Regions from separate parts of the Homo sapiens genome. Here region 2 is linked to region 1. Evidence: promoter capture Hi-C in 16 types of primary human blood cells and fetal thymus (Javierre and others, 2016). All regions are on one chromosome and are shown on one strand. Each heading gives the region's core, a stretch centred on a gene start or on the middle of the fragment in contact. The rest is flanking DNA. Distances are from core to core; before and after follow the strand shown. Region 1 holds the start of VCPKMT (valosin containing protein lysine methyltransferase). Region 2 overlaps LRR1 (leucine rich repeat protein 1).

Region 1 (4,532 bases), core at 1,175-3,674:
ACTCATAATCTGATAATTAACCCAGATTAGTTTATTTTGAGCCTCTGAATTTAACTTGACAAGTAAGAATTTTTCAGACTTAAAAATTTTTTTTTTTAATTTTTCAGAATAGAGGTATAATTTAATTACTTTTTTTTTTGAGGGAAATATGAAATCTGATGATGATCCTCCTGCTATTCCACCGAGACAGCCTCCTCCTCCAAAGGTAAAACCCAGAGTTCCTGTTCCTACTGGTGCATTTGATGGGCCTCTGCATAGTCCACCTCCGCCACCACCAAGAGATCCTCTTCCTGATACCCCTCCACCAGTTCCCCTTCGGCCTCCAGAACACTTTATAAACTGTCCATTTAATCTTCAGCCACCTCCACTGGGGCATCTTCACAGAGATTCAGACTGGCTCAGAGACATTAGTACGTGTCCAAATTCGCCAAGCACTCCTCCTAGCACACCCTCTCCAAGGGTACCGCGTCGATGCTATGTGCTCAGTTCTAGTCAGAATAATCTTGCTCATCCTCCAGCTCCCCCTGTTCCACCAAGGCAGAATTCAAGCCCTCATCTGCCAAAACTGCCACCAAAGACTTACAAACGGGAGCTTTCGCACCCCCCATTGTACAGACTGCCTTTGCTAGAAAATGCAGAAACTCCCCAATGACCTTAGCCATATGTAGTCATTGACACTGGAATGGTATTTGTAAAGTTTTTTTTTTAATTTATTCAAAAAAAGACATAGTATTTTAGTACTTTTTACAAATAATGCTCTTACAAAAATGCTACTGATCAAATAAGCTTTTAAGAATTGGAAAAATAAAAATACAAAAGTCCTTCACCATTATCCTCAGGTGATCAGTAGCATTGCCTTGTCTTGGATCCTCAGTGCTGCCAAAAGGCCAGTATAAAGAATTTATATTTGCACTGTAAACTCTGCAAAAATATGGTTTAAAGTGACATGATTGCACTGAAAAGGGATAGTGCTTTTGTGAAATTTTTCAAATTTGAGTAATAGATGCCTTTTTAAGGCAGTGAATTTACACAAATATGGGAGGGGTATATGGTGTTACTGATTTTTAAACCTCTTTGACCATCTTCTAGTTTTTACTTCTAGTTTTTACATCTAGGAGAATTGTGAATAACACCAACTGTTCTTAAACTCTTTAATGCCATGTCTTAAATGCCGGTATTTGCTGCTGAAGACAAAAATGAAAAGTAGGATGAAAATAATAGAATGGCACTGTAAGTGTTTATTATTTTGTCAAAATGTAAACAAAGACTACATAACCCAATGATGGAGGGAAAAAGGGCATGTATCTCATTCAGATGTGCCTTTTGTTTTTGCAGACTATGACGTCTTTAGCTAATGAATTGCCTATTGTTATGGAAAACAGTTAATATGCCATGTATGTACAGTTTTGTTTATATTGTATATTTAAAGATACTGCTAATAACCTATATAAATTTAAGTGACTTGAGGCCTATAATACAATCTGCTACTTTACTAATTCATAAATTCAAAAAAAATTCTATGGCATAGGAACCAACTGCCTTGCCTTCAAGACCTAGTAACTTTCTCTATAAATCTCGTGTTAACTGAAATTTTTTTTAAATATATTTTTTAGATTGGTAATATTTAAACCAGCAAATACTTAAAGCTTTATTAAACATTTTAATCAGATAAGTGAGTAAAGCTTTTATTTGCCATTTGGATGCCTTCGTTCAAAGTGATAGAGTGTTTTGCTGATAGTGCTGTAGCAGCAGTTGTAAAGTAGCCAAAAGCCACGTTGTTTATTTACTGGTTTGTGGCCTTTTACTGTGCTTTGTATCAGAGTTCTTAACAAGATTAATAAATCACCCCAGTCTTAATTTTTAAAAGACTTTTAAAATATGTGTTTTCATTATAAGGAACAAAGGGGGAGATTGTTGAGTCCTATAGACACACACACACACACACACAATTTTTTCTTCACTGTTAAATGTGAGCTGCAGGCTTCTAGCAACCACTTTTATGAATTCATACAAAAAACTAGGAGCATACTAGGAACTTGAAAAGGAAGATTGTAAGATTATAGCCATCTTTGGTAGGATCTTGGAAGCTGATTGCATTTAAGCCTTGTAACTACTATGTAAATCAAGTGTCCAACTTGGTAAACTCTGAGGTTGGCTTTGTTTTTTAAAGAGCAGATTATAATAGTTTTGTCTGGGAAAGTGATTTAAACGGCCTCTTCGTTAAGCCAAACGTGTGATTTAGGGTAGAGGGAGGCTGCCAAGCGCGTCGGGTAAGCAGGGGCCCCACGCTCGGCCCCGCCCAGGTAACGCTGCCTTCCGGGCTTTGTTAACTCGCGCGCGCTGCGTCGCCAACTCAGCGGCGGGCAGGGGGCGGAGCCGCAGGGCGGGGCGGTGCGCGTTGATGTGACGTCCCTGCGCGCGCCGCTTTCTGTTGCCGGGCGCAATGGCGGATACGCTGGAGTCCTCGCTGGAGGACCCACTGCGGAGCTTTGTGCGAGTTTTGGAGAAGCGGGATGGTACAGTGCTACGACTACAGCAGTATAGCTCCGGTGGCGTGGGTTGCGTTGTGTGGGACGCTGCCATTGTCCTTTCTAAATACCTGGAAACGCCCGAGTTTTCTGGCGACGGGGCCCACGCGCTGAGCCGGCGGTCGGTGCTGGAGCTGGGTTCGGGCACCGGGGCCGTGGGGCTCATGGCTGCTACCCTCGGGTAAGAGCTGGCGGGCGGGCGGGATGTGGGGGCGCCTTCTTGCTGGGGAAATCCGGATTACAGGCTTTCCCCCCTGTGCCTACACCTCAGTCGACGTTATTTTATAGGGCTGATGTTGTAGTCACCGATCTTGAGGAATTGCAAGACTTGCTGAAGATGAATATTAATATGAACAAGCATCTTGTCACTGGTTCTGTTCAAGCCAAGGTACTGAAATGGTTTGTATGGCCTTTCAGCTTGTTTTAAGATATTGATTTGTAGTTTGTTTTGAATTGCGTTTCATTAAAAGGATGGAAGGGGACTTTCCGGTTCTTTATAAAACAAGAGTATTTTGAATTATTAAAACAATTGAAATATTTGTTTGGCATTTTTAAGGGGGGAAGAAATAGAAGGCTTTCCTTCTCCACCCGACTTCATACTGATGGCCGACTGCATATACTATGAAGAGGTAAGTATCCAGTGAGCGAAGTCTCTTCACTTAGAAGATGAACCTTATTCCATGAATTCTAAAGCACACGTTTCTTCACATTTTAACATCTTTGAATCCGGGATTTGCCTTATAGTTGATGCAGTAAAGAGAAGATAAAAGTCACCAGGGACCATATGTATATACGCTCATCATTATCATACCGACCTGGTGAAGCATGTTGAGAAAAGTGTTATATGCATTTTACTAGAGGCTTCTGTAAAAATTTTAAAGGATTTTGCCAATTGGATGTTATGAAAAGCCAAAATCCTCTCTTTTTCCCTTGGTTGTTCCCACGGAACATGTTAACCATGACATTGAGAATTAAGTTATAAATAATTCATTGTTCTTTTCTTTAAATACCAGTTTGGGCCGGGCGCGGTGGCTCACGCCTGTAATCCCAACACTTGGGAGGTCAAGGCAGGTGGCTCACCTGAGGTCGGGAGTTCGAGACCAGCCTGACCTACATGGCAAAACCCTGTCTCTACTAAAAATACAAAATTAGCCAGGCGTGGTGGTGCATGTCTGTAATCCTAGCTATTTGGGAGTCTGAGGCAGGAGAATCGCTTGAACCTGGGAGGCGGAGGTTGCAGTGAGCCGAAATCATGCCATTGCATTCCAGCCTGGGCAACAAGAGCAAAACTCTGTCTCAAAAAAAAAAAAAAAAAAAAAAAACATCAGTTTGTATAGTGTTGTGGGCATCGATTATTTTAAAAATAATTAGCATTGAACCAAGTTAGGGTCAGATTTAACTTTTGTAGGGAAATCGTTGATTATTTAAATCCCAAATTAGATTAAATAAAATTAAACTTTTAAGAGTAAGGTTGATTCCATTTGTTTCCCATGAGAACTCCAAAATGCAGTCATCTGAATCCTTTTTCTGGAAACCAAAATCAGTACATGGTTTAGTTAACAGGAGCTTACCCAATCATTAGTTACAGAGGGGTTTTTGTTTGTTTGTTTTTGTTTTAAGATAGGGGTCTTGCTCTGTCACACATGTTGTAGTGCAGTGGAGTGATCATAGCTCACTGTAACCTCGAGCTCCTGAGGCTCAAGTAATCCTCCCATTCAGCCTCCTCAATAGCTGGGACTATAGGTGTGCACCAGCATGCTGGCTAATTTTTAAATTTTTTGTAAGGTGTTGCGGGGGGTGGTTTGTCTCTCGCTGTATTCTCCAGGCTGGTCTTCAACTCCTGCTTTCAAGCGATCTTTCCACCTCTGCCTTCCAAAGTGTTGATATTACAGGTGTGAGCCACTGCACCTAGCCTAGAGCTTTAATTACATGTGCTTTGTTGGATTGATTCAAAGATGGATAAATTGTAGGGGAGCTATAAATACCCCTGTACCTCCTCAACCT
Region 2 (4,532 bases), core at 1,760-4,259, 510 kb after region 1:
AGTTCACCGAAGCCCTGAACTTTTTTTTGAGACAGGGTCTTGCTCTATCAACCAGGATGGAGTGCAGTGGCTGCAATCACAGTTCACTGCAGCCTTGACCTTCCAGGCTCAGGTGACCCTCCACCTCAGCCTCCCAAGTAGCTGAGATTACAGGTGCACACCACTATGCCTGGCTAATTTTTTTGTAGAGATGGGGTTTCACCATGTCACCCAGGCTGATCTTGAACACCTGGATTCAAGCAATCCGCCCAACTAGGGCTCCCAAAGTGCTGGGATCATAGGCGTGAGCCACCGTGTCTGGCCTCCAGGTTCTAACTTGTGGGATTAAGTGATCCTCCTGCCTCGGCCTCCCAGGTGTGAGCCACTGCACCCAGCCAGTTTATGGTATTTTTGTTTTGTTTTGTTTTGTTTTGTTTGAGACAGGGTCTGGCTCTGTCGCCCAGGTTGGAGTGCAGTGGTGCAATCTTGGCTCATTGTAACCTGCACCTCCCAGGCTCAAGTGATCCTCCCACCTCAGGCTCCCAAGTAGCTGGCACCACAGGTGTGAAAACCACGCCTGGCTAATTTTTTTTTTTTTTTTTGTGGAGACAGGGTTTCACCATGTTGCCCAGGCTGGTCTTGAACTCCTGAGAGCAAGTGATCCACCAGTCTTGGCCTTCCAAAGTGCTGGGATTACAGGTGTGAGCTATGGCACCCAGCCTCAGTTTATATTTTTATAAGAATGATTACAGTCCGGGCACGGTGGCTCATGCCTATAATCCCAGCACTTTGGGCGGCCAAGGTGGGCGGATCACGAGGTCAGGAGTTTGAGACCAGCCGGGCCAACATGGTGAAACCCGTCTCTACTAAAGATACAAAAAATTAGCTGGGCATGGCGGCACGTGCCTGTAATCCCAGCTACTGGGAGGCTGGGGCAGGAGAATCGCTTGAACCCGGGAGGTGGAGGTTGCAGTGAGCTGAGATCACGCCACTGTAATCCAGCCTGGGTGACAGGGAGAGACTCTGTCTCATTAAAAAAAAAAAAAAAAAAAAAAAAAAAGGAATGATTACAGTAAGGGCCAGGCACAGTAGACAAAAATTCGCCAGGAGTGGTGGCACCCACCTGTGGGTTGCAGTGAACCAAGCTCTTCCCACTGCACTCCAACCTGGGTGACAGAATGAGACTCCATCTCAAAAAAAAAAAAAAAAAAAAAAAAAGAAGAAGAAGAAAGAATGATTACAGTAAATAAAATACAAGATGGTTCTAATTGAATTTTTTCCTCTTTTATTACAACAAACTTAGATTTGTAACCTGTGGTTTAGCTGGCAAAATGTAGACCTGTGCAGTTGCCTTATAGAGTTCCAGTCAAAGAACACCCTAGGGCTCCATCTTGAGCACAGAAGCAAACCCAGTTTTCTTCCCATCCTGGGAATCTTACTGAGGCAGACTTTGCCCTTTTAGAAGGCACACAAGCATATTTGGGAAGCTGCCTCTTGTGCCATTGCCTCTTCAAAAAACCTGCAAGAGTCTGTCCCTATTCGGCTATATGGGATAGCAGAATGTGCAAACAGCCTTCTTTAAAGAAAATACAGGCCAGGCTGAGCACAGTGGCTCACGCCTGTAATCCCAGCATTTTGGAAGGCTGAGGTGGGTGGATCGCCTGAGTTCAGGAGTTCAAGACCAGCCTGGTCAACATGGTGAAACCCTGTCTCTACTAAAGATAAAAAAAAAAAAAAAATCAGCCACGCATGGTGGTGGGTGTCTGTAATCCCAGCTACTCGGGAGGCTGAGGCAGGAGAATTGTTTGAACCCGGGAGATGGAGGTTGCAGTGAGCTGAGATCGTGCCACTACACTCCAGCCTGGGCAGCAAGAGCAAAACTCCGTCTCAAAACAAACAAACAAACAAACAAAAAAAGCAAGCAAGCAAGCAAATACACGCCAGGCCAAGTATGGTGGCTCATGCTTATAATCCCAACACTTTGGGAGGCTGAGGCAAGAGGATCGCTTGAGGCCAGGAGTTCAAGGCCAGTCTGGGCAACATCATATCAAGACTCCGTCTCTACAAAAAGTTATTTTAAAAATTTATCCGGGAGTGGTGAGGTACACCTTTAGTCCCAGATATTCAGGAGGCTCGCTTGAGCCTAGGTGTTTGATGCAGTGAGCTATGACTATGCCTCTGTACTTCAGCTTGGGTGACAGAACAAGACTCTGTTTCTAAAAAATAAAGAAAATACAGCCAAATATTAATCATTAATGTTTTTAATACCATACCTTACTTAGACAGATATCCACAGGAGGCTCCTTTAACCGAACAGTGGCTTTCCCCTCATCTACAAATTTGGTGAAGAATTGCTCAATGTTCTCCCTTAGCTGCATAAAACCAATAGAAAAAAAAGAAGAAAACTAATTATTGTTACTCAGTAACATTTATTACAACTAGAATGTGCCAGTTACTTTGCCAGGCTTTGGTTTGGCTTTTAGTCCTTGAGTCTGAGTGTTTTCATTTTAAGTTTTAAAGCTTTTTATCACGCCACTGCACTCCAGGCTGGGCAACAGAAAGAGACTCCTTCTCAAAAAAAAAAAAAAAAAAAAAAAAAAAGTTGTTTTTTTTTGAGACAGAGTCTCACTCACTCTCACCCAGGATGGAGTGAAGTGGTGCCATCACTGCAACCTCCACTTCCCAGGTTCAAGCAATTCCCATGACTCAGCCTCCTGAGTAGCTCGGATTACAGGTGCGTGCCACCATGCCCGGCTAATTTTTGTATTTTTAGTAGAAACACGGTTTCATCATGTTGGCCAAGCTGGTCTAGAACTCCTGGCCTCAAGTGATCTGCCTGCCTGGGCCTACCAAAGTGCTGGGATTACAGGCATGAGCCACGGCGCGTGGCCAAGTTTTAAAGTTTTTTTTTTTTTTTTTTTTTTTAGCAGTTGGGAAGTTATACTCCTCATCTAGCTGGTGGTGGATGTTACTGCTCTGTCTGTCCAGTAACTCTCCTTTGAGAACAGGATCACCATGTTTTGAGAGAATGCTCCTTTTCTCCCATTCCAACTATGTAACTGTAGGAAGAGTTGCCAATAGCAGTTACTTGCCTTCATAACTTCAGTCCATTAGCCTGGGGTGGGCACACCTCCCAGTAGGTTATATACAAACTCCATGAGAGCAGGAATCTTGTCTCCTTTGCTATTCTATCCTGAGTGCTAGAACGATGACTGACACATAATGAGTGCTCAAAAAAAATTTAATGATTATCATCTATATAAATGGCATATTTAAAATTTAAAAAAAATTAATGATTGCTGTTGCATCTGCTTTAGATTTCAACAACTATTGATTCAGAACCCACTATGTACCAGGTACTCTAATAGGGGCTTGGGACATAGCAATGAATAAGACTGACAGGGTAACTACACTTAAAGAGTTGACAATCTGATGAGAGATAGTTATTAAACAAGTACTTATAAGCATAACAAATATCAAGACAAGGCAAGTGCAGGATGCTGTGACCTGATTTTTTTTAAGAAAGCACATTAAGCTTTAATATAGAAATATTTAGGTTACACTTGTGCTCAAGTAATAAAACATTTGTTCTTTTTTGATCTCATACATTCTCTCCTCAGGTATGGCCCATCTCCTGTACGCTTGGAGCGACCTTTGGCTACGTGGCTGGCCTTGTTATTTCACCACTCTGGGTATGCTGGAATAGAAAGCAACTTACATACAAGAACAATTAACTGGAGAAAAGGGAGATATTTCTTTGTGCAGATTCTGTAAGGGCTGTGCAGAAATGTGTATGGTCAAAGCCAAGCAGTTCCATCTACAGCTCTGTTTTTTATGTAGTTACAACATGATGTGATTGTAGCTTTTTAAACTATGAAACCCCTGAGAGATTGTACCTTCTAGTTGAAATAAAGTATTTATAATAGATTGTGGCTTCAGATGCTGCTTACTGCTTCTTAAATCTTTAAGGAACATTCTTAATAAACTTTACAGAATTCTGAGGACAGGTTTTGTTTTCTTTCAAGTTTTGAACTGCTTCATTACCTATAAAAGGTCTGGGTATAGCTGCAGCATTTCATTTGCTTTCTGAGAGAAATGGACAGTTTCCTTGGCCACTGAAGATGTTTCTCACGTAATTAAACAACAGTTTATACATCTTGATCCTATTCTTTTTTTTTTACAGTGTGTTTCTTTGGAGTTAAAATGGCTATGATAGCCTCATCAAAAACAGTCTTCAATCCCTTCTGGGTTAAAGCTGAACATTCCACATAGCAGCATGCTCCTATCTCTTTTGCTAGTTTCTGTCCTTGTTCCACACATATAGGTTTTTCTTTCATATCACTCAGTCTTGCTAAAGTTTTGGGGTCATCTCGGAGATCAATCTGAGCTCCTATTAATAAAAAGGGTACATTTGGTGCGTATTCCTTAAGTTCCGGTACCCACTCCTCCCTCACATTTTGAAATGAGGCTGGATTTACCACCGAGAAGCATATAAGGAAGACGTCGGTCATTGGGTAAGATAAAGGCCTCAGATGGTCATAGTCTTCCTGTCC

What was found. Contacts are between HindIII fragments. The CHiCAGO score rates a contact against its expected background, and 5 or more counts as called.
Region 2: a fragment that was not itself captured here is called in contact with the fragment with the promoter of VCPKMT in region 1 in 5 of 17 cell types (fetal thymus, total CD8 T cells, total CD4 T cells and 2 more); the score reaches 7.5 in fetal thymus.

Annotation. Positions count from the first base shown.
Region 1 is chr14:50,114,464-50,118,995 of GRCh38, reverse strand. It overlaps VCPKMT (valosin containing protein lysine methyltransferase), which reads left to right and starts at 2,424. Exons shown (of 6, transcript NM_024558.3): 1 at 2,424-2,709; 2 at 2,817-2,927; 3 at 3,085-3,157. The coding sequence starts at 2,444. It overlaps SOS2 (SOS Ras/Rho guanine nucleotide exchange factor 2), which reads left to right. Exons shown (of 23, transcript NM_006939.4): 23 at 143-1,866. The coding sequence ends at 652. RefSeq lists an enhancer at 2,428-2,487. The HindIII fragment of the contact is 15,614 bases long and covers 1,685-4,532 here.
Region 2 is chr14:49,600,189-49,604,720 of GRCh38, reverse strand. LRR1 (leucine rich repeat protein 1) reads right to left here. Exons shown (of 4, transcript NM_152329.4): 2 at 2,253-2,351. It also overlaps the pseudogene RHOQP1. Among named protein-coding and RNA genes, the nearest start is that of LRR1, 3.5 kb to the right of the region's middle. The HindIII fragment of the contact is 1,015 bases long and covers 2,502-3,516 here.